Linked DNA regions of Homo sapiens: region 1 is linked to region 2. Evidence: promoter capture Hi-C in human tissues and cell types (Jung and others, 2019). All regions are on one chromosome and are shown on one strand. The core of a region is centred on a gene start or on the middle of the fragment in contact, and the rest is flanking DNA. Distances in the headings are between cores, read along the strand shown.

Region 1 (3,486 bases), core at 600-3,099, 1.2 Mb after region 2:
CCAGCCATCCCATTACTGGGTATATACCCAAATGATTATAAATCATGCTGCTATAAAGACACATGCACATGTATGTTTATTGCAGCACTATTCACAATAGCAAAGACTTGGAACCAACCCAAATGTCCAACATCAATAGACTGGATTAATAAAATGTGGCACATATACACCATGGAATACTATGCAGCCATAAAAAATGATGAGTTCATGTCCTTTGTAGGGACATGGATGAAACTGGAAACCACCATTCTCAGCAAACTATTGCAAGGACAAAAAATCAAACACCACATGTTCTCACTCACAGGTGGGAATTGAACAATGAGAACACTTGGACACAGGGAGGGGAACATCACACACTGGGGACTGTTGTGGGGTGGTGGTAGGGGGGAGGGATAGCATTAGGAGATATACCTAATGCTAAATGATGAGTTAATGGGTGCAGCACACCAACATGGCACATGTATACATATGTAACAAACCTGCACGTTGTGCACATGTACCCTAAAACTTAAAGTATAATAATAATAAAATTAAAAAAAAAACTTGCTTTATGAATCTGGATGCTCCTGTATTGGGTGCATATATTTTTAGGATACTTAGCTCTTCTTGTTGCATTGATCACTTTACTATTATGCAATGTCCTTTGTCTTTTTTGGTCTTTGTTGGTTTAAAGTCTGTTTTATCAGAGACTAGGATTGCAACCCCTGGTTTTTTTGTTTGTTTGTTTTCTTTTTTTTTTTTTTTTTTTTTTTTTTTTTGCTTTCCATATGCTTGGTAAATCTTCCTCCATCCCTTTATTTTGAGCCTACGTGTGTGTTTGCATGTGAGATGGGTCTCCTGAATACAGCACATTGATGGGTCTTGACTCTATCCAATTTGCCAGTCTTTATCTTTTAATTGGGGCATTTAGCCCATTTACATTTAATGTTAATATTGTTATGTGTGAATTTGATCCTGTCATTATGATGCTAGCTGGTTATTTTGCCCATTAGTTTATGCGGTTTCTTCATAGTGTCAATGATCTTTACAATTTGGTATATTTTTGCAGTTACTGGTACCAGTTTTTCCTTTCCATATTTAGTGCTTCCTTTAGGAGCTCTTGTAAGGCAGGCCTGGTGGTGACAAAATCCCTGAGCATTTGTTTGTCTGTAAAGGATTTTCTTTCTCCTTCACTTAAGAAGCTTAGCTTGGCTGGATAAGAAATTCTGGGTTGAAAATTCTTTTCTTTAAGAATGTTGAATATTGGCCCCCACTCTCTTCTGGCTTGTAGGGTTTCTGCAGAGAGATCTGCTGTTAGTCTGATGGGCTTCCCTTTGTGGGTAACCTGACCTTTTTCTCTGGTTGCCCTTAACATTTTTTCCTTCATTTCAACTTTGGTGAATCTGACGATTATGTGTCTTGGGGTTACTCTTCTCAAGGAGTATCTTTGTGATGTTCTCTGTATTTCCTGAATTTGAATGTTGGCCTGTCTTGCTAGGTTGGGGAAGTTCTCCTGGATAATATCCTGAAGTGTGTTTTTCAGCTTGGTTCCATTCTCCTTGTCACTTTCAGTTATACCAATTAAACATAAGTTTGGTCTGTTCACATAGTCCCATATTTCTTGGAGGCTTTGTTTGTTCCTTTTATTTTTTTTCTCTAATCTTGTGTTCATGCTTTATTTTATTAAGTTGATCTTCAATCTCTGATATCCTTTCTTCTACTTGATTGATTCGGCTATTGATACTTGTGTATGCTTCACAAAGTTCTCATGCTGTGTTTTTCAGCTTTATCAGGTCATTTATGTTCTTCTCAAACTGGTTATTCTAGTTAGCAGTTCCTGTAACCTTTTATCAAGGTTCTTAGCTTCCTTGCATTGGATTAGAACATGAATTTTTAGCTCAGAGGAGTTTGTTATTATCCACCTTCTGAAGCCTACTTCTGTCAATTTGTCAAACTCATTCTCCATCCACTTTTGTTCCCTTGCTGGCAAGGAGTTGTGATCCTTTGGAGGAGAAGAGGCATTCTGGTTTTTGGAATTTTCAGCCTTTTTGCACTGGTTTTTCCTCATCTGCATGGATTTATCTATCTTTGGTCTTTGATTTTGGTGACCTTCAGGTGGGGTTTTTGCATGGTTGCCCTTTTTGTTGATGTTGGTGCTATTGCTTTTTGTTTGTTAGTTTTCCTTCTAACAGTCACCCTCTTCTTCTACAGGTCTGCTGGAGTTTGCTGGAGGTCTACCCCAGACTCTGTTTGGCTGGGTATCACCAGCGGAGGCTGCAGAACAGCAAAGATTGCTGCCTCCTCCTTGCTCTGGAAGCTTCATTCCAGAGGGGCATCTGCCAGATGCCAGCTGGAGCTCTCCTGTATGAGGTGTCTGTCGACCTTTGCTGGGAGGTTTCTCCCTCTCAGGAAGCACGGGGGTCAGGGACCCACTTGAGGAGGCAGTCTGTCTTTTAGCAGAGCTCGAACGCTGTGCAGGGGGATCCGCTGCTCTCTTCAGACCCAGCAGGCAGGATTAAGTCTGCTGAAGCAGATCCCACAGCTGCCCTGGGAGTTTTATCTATAAGCCCCTGACTGGGGCTGCTGCCTTTCTTTCAGAGATGCCCTGCACAGAGAGAAGGAATCTAGAGAAGCAGTCTGGCTACAGCGGCTGTGTGGCACTGCAGGGGGTCCACCCAGTTCGAATTTCAGGGTGGCTTTGTTTACACTGTGAGGTGAAAACCACCTACTCAAGCCTCATTAATGGCAGACGCCCCTCCTTCCACCAAGCTCAAGCATCCCAGGTCAACTTCAGACTACTGTGCTGGCAGCGAGAATTTCAAGCCAGTGGATCTTAGCTTTTTGGGCTCCATGGGGGTGAGATCCACTAAGCAAGACCACTCAGCTCCCTGGCTTCAGCCCCCTTTCCAGAGGAGTGAAAGGTTCTGTCTCGCTGGCGTTCCAGGTGCCACTGGGGTATAAAAAAGAAATTCCTGCAGCTAGCTCAGTGTCTGCCCAAACGGCCGCCCTGTTCTGTGCTTGAAACCCGGGGTCCTGGTGGTATAGGCACCCGAGGGAATCTCCTGGTCTGCGGGTTGCAAAGACAGTGGGAAAAAGTGCTATCTGGGCCAGATAGCACTGTCTCTCAAGGAACAGTCCCACACGGCTTCCCTTGGCTAGGGGAGGGAGTTCCCTGACCCCTTACACTTCCTGGATGAGGCAATGCCCCACCCTGCTTTGGCTTGCCATCCTTGGGGTGCACCCACTGTCTAATCAGTCCCAATGAGATGAACTTTGTACCTCAGTTGGAAATGCAGTTGGCCTCACTGGGAGCTGTAGACCAGAGCTGCTCCTATTCAGCCATCTTGCCCAGGAATCCGGAGTAATCTTTTTTTTTTTTTTTTTGACCAGTGGGGTGATCTCAGCTCACTGCAACCTCCACCTCCTAAGTTCAAGTAATTCTCATGCCTCAGCCTCCCATGTAGCTGGGATTACAGGTGTGCACCACCACACCTGGCTAATTTTTGT
Region 2 (3,701 bases), core at 221-2,720:
ACTTTGAGAACATTATGCTAAGTGAAAGAAACTGGTCACCATGGCCCCATTTATAGGATATGTCCAGACTAGACAAATGCAGAGAGGCAGAAAATACATTAGTTGCCTAGGCCTGGGGCAGGGGGAAAATGGGGAGTGACTGCTAATGGGTCTAGGGATTCTTTCTGGGATAACGAAATTGTTGTAAAACTGATATGGTGATGTTTACACAACTCTATGAACATATGAAAAAACCTCTGAATTGTACTACACTTTAAATGAGTGTATTGGTACGGAAATGTGAACTCAATAAAGCTGTTTAAAAAACAAAACACCTAAGGTCTAGTATATACGTTCTTTGTGGAAAACAAGGTACATTCAAGACAAATAAATAACTATGAACTGATCTGATTACTAACCAAGACCATGCTTGAGGCACTTAGAATTAAGAATTTAACATACATTCCTTACTAGCTAAAAGATTACCCCTTTAAATATGTCTAAATCTCAACGAAAATGGACCTGCAGTACTTGCAACTGTCAGGGCATAAAATGGGATTCACGAAAGATACCTGAGTAAACACGTTCCTTTCCTGTACATGGCTGAACTGTACTTCCCATTACAAAAAAAAAAACAATAACTGCAGAAAAATACTCCACCGGGAGCCGGAGAAATTCTCAAAGAAGAATCTAATACTGAGCTAAGACAAGGGGTGGAAAGAATGAGGAAGGGGAAGGAGCACAGAGTAGGGGGAGGTCTCCATGCATTTAAGCCCAAGGAGTCCAGTTACATTAAATCCAACTTTTAAACGCTTTGTGAACAGGCCCAGAGGCAAAGTCCTGGGCGCAAACCCACGAGCCGAGCTGCGAGGCTGAGAGGAAGTGCTAGTCCAGCCCAACCCCGCACTGGATTTGGTGTGGAAACCGTCAGAGGTAAAAGGGATCGCTCAGATGGGGGGCCCGCGGTGAGGGCAGGAGGCAAAACCCCACCGCCCGGCGCTCCCAGCCAGCGCGCAGCGGGAGGCGGCTGTGCCGCGGGCCCGTCCTTCGCGTCCGAGCTGCCGCGCACGCCCCGCGCGGAGCGCGGCACCGGGAGCCTCCGGTGGGGCTGGGTCCCGTCTCCCGCCCCATCCGGCGCTTTGTCCCAGCCCCGGTGGCCGGCGGCCCCGCTGCGGGCCCCCGGGCCGCGGTGACAGCCCCCGTCCCCATAGGGCTGCGAGCCCGGGAGTCCCTATAGGCTGGCGACCGGTCGCCCGCCGGACCTCACCCAGGCGGGACGCGGCAGGAGGACGCTCGCCCTGCCGGAGGGGCCGCCGCCGCCGCCCGAAGCGCACGCAGGCCAAGCTCAGGCGCCAAAAGCCTTGGACTTCGAAACACACGACTTCCAACATCCTAAGCTTACCCAAAAATTCTCGACGAAATACGCCATGACCATCGTGCCGCCGCCGCGCCGGGTTCCGCGTCCGCGCCCGCCCGCCGCTGTGTAAACACGGCCCGGCCCCCACAGCACCCCCGCCTTTCGCCGCCGCCGCCTTCTTCCCAGAGACCGGCCCGCACCTTCCAGGGCGCATGCGCCACCTAGCGGCTGCCGCAGCTGGGCGAGCACTTAGACGCCACGGCCACGGTGTGCGCATGCGCCCTGTCCCCATTCTCGGGTGTTGGTAGATCTCTCTGCATCCCGGGCGCGGCTGGGTTGAGTGTTCTCTTAGGAATGGTGGAGAACTGGGTCCTTGAGGAGTCACCGGGGAGACTGCTCGCACTGTTTGTGGTGCGACGGGCACTGGCCCAGGGACAGAGGGAAGAGAAGGGCCAGCCAGCGGCAGTGGAGTCGGCAGGCTGGCTGCCCACTCGCTTTCTCTCCTCACAAGACTCGCTTCCCCGGCCTTCGAGGATCTCGAACGGACTATAGTCTGGACTCGCTGGGCTGGAGGAAACTTGGCCGCTGGCCACCCGGAGGAGACTGAGAAGCCTTTGGTCAACAGGGCGCCTTTCCTTGAACCAAAACAAAACTTTCCGAAGCCGGAAAGGAAACGCCCAGTGTCGCCTGAGAGCCCTGGAGCTGCGCGAGACCCAGGCACTGAGTGCGGCCTCGGCCTCTGACCTCTAACACGCCGGGAACAAACCAGCTGGGGCGGCCCGCAGGCCTGCGGGAGCGGAATGTGACCCGAAACCGACGGACTTCCTGACCCATAGTCCATAGTTCTCTTCAGCAACTTGAACATTTTGGAAAAAGAAACAAGTCTTAACATGCCACGACCTAATGGAAAAACTAAATCCCCTTCCTACACCTTGCTTTCCAAAAGTTAAAAAAAAATAGTTAAACGCTATTAGAGGTCTCAAGTTCACTGTCACCAGATCAGCTAGGTCCAGAATCTTCAGTTCTTGAAGCCAAGCCCTACAAATAGATTTATTGTAGCATATCACACCTCTTCAGGTGACTTAAAACAATGAGAATTCATGAGAAATTATCTTCATCCTCAAGTAAAAATCATGAGGTGCCTTTCACATGGATGAAATTGTAAGTGCTTGTTGAACAAGGAATAATTGGATAATGGTATTGTGGTCATACTTTTTAAGAATATCTGTTAGAAAGATATAGGATGCAGAACATCTAGGATTTGCTGAAAGTCATTTATTATGGATAGGGGTATGAGTAAGGTCATAGATGAAAAGGGATGAAACAAGATTGGCCATAGTTGCTCTATTTTTGTGTATCTTGTTTCTTTATTTTGTTTCTTTAAAAAGTCCTCATATCACTGACATTTACACTTAGTTTTAGGGAAAGTCAAATTTAGAAATAAGCTACAGCTCTCTAAGCTATCGGTCTAACTGGATTTTTCTCGATGCTGAAGAACTTTTTAAAAAATTCAGCCATCTAGGTCACACAGCAAATACATTTGGCATTAAATTCCTAGTATCACTAAAGTACTCCCTCCCACCGCCGCGCCCCCCCCCTTCCCCCCGCACCCTTAGACCTGGGCAAGAGAGACTTCTATCCTGGACTCCATGCTTTAAAGGAACTTACATATCACACACACACATTAATTTAAAAAAAAATAGGTGCCCCTGCCGCTTGTGATCTGATACTGAACACTGGCTCATAACCATAAATTCCCTCTCCCAGTGAAGAACACTATTCAGGCCCCAGGAAAACTCTTCTTCCTATCTTTTGTCTTCTGTCCTCAAAACAAACGGTGAACTCCAAAAGCAGTGAAAATTTGTACATAGCATGGCTGCCCATTTCAGAGACTGCTTTGGAGTCAGAATTTGAGCAGCAGAAATGCTTAGGTAAGAGAGAAGACAAATTAACTTGTCAAATCCTTCATCTCAGCTTGAATGCTATAGATTCCTGCATGACAAAGTATTGTTTCTCAGTAGTATCAAGCATACATTTTCCTTTTGTTAGTGTTCCAATGTGTGGCTATTACCTACAGACAATTTAGTATAGTATTCACAATAGTTACTGGCCTTCATTCGCATTCTTCTGCTCCCCTTAAATTTAGGAGTAGATCTGGAATGAAAATAAGTATTCTGAGTATTTCAGGTATTTGCAAGGTTCATTAGGGCCGAAACACCATATCCTGTAATTGCCTGATGTTTAAGTTGTGGAACTTTATAGTAAACAGTGATTAAGGTGACTAAATTTCAGACAAGACTGTGTAGTATAGGAAGAGCGTGGATGGTATCAGCCTCCTTCTGCACTCTCAAGTGAGGTTTCCAGG

Evidence for each region. The method cuts DNA at HindIII sites, captures the fragments that hold promoters and counts their contacts. A contact is called where the count stands out against the background at its distance.
Region 1: a contact is called between a fragment that was not itself captured here and the fragment with the promoter of FCHO2 in region 2, in 1 of the 25 tissues and cell types used here (dorsolateral prefrontal cortex).

What each region holds. Positions count from the first base shown.
Region 1 is chr5:71,789,666-71,793,151 of GRCh38, reverse strand. No RefSeq gene overlaps it. Among named protein-coding and RNA genes, the nearest start is that of CARTPT, 72 kb to the right of the region's middle. The HindIII fragment of the contact is 5,518 bases long and covers 1-3,486 here.
Region 2 is chr5:72,953,810-72,957,510 of GRCh38, reverse strand. It overlaps FCHO2 (FCH and mu domain containing endocytic adaptor 2), which reads right to left and starts at 1,470. Exons shown (of 26, transcript NM_138782.3): 1 at 1,382-1,470. The coding sequence starts at 1,414. It overlaps FCHO2-DT (FCHO2 divergent transcript), which reads left to right and starts at 1,627. Exons shown (of 2, transcript NR_186392.1): 1 at 1,627-2,497. RefSeq lists a silencer at 878-1,577. The HindIII fragment of the contact is 22,512 bases long and covers 1-3,701 here.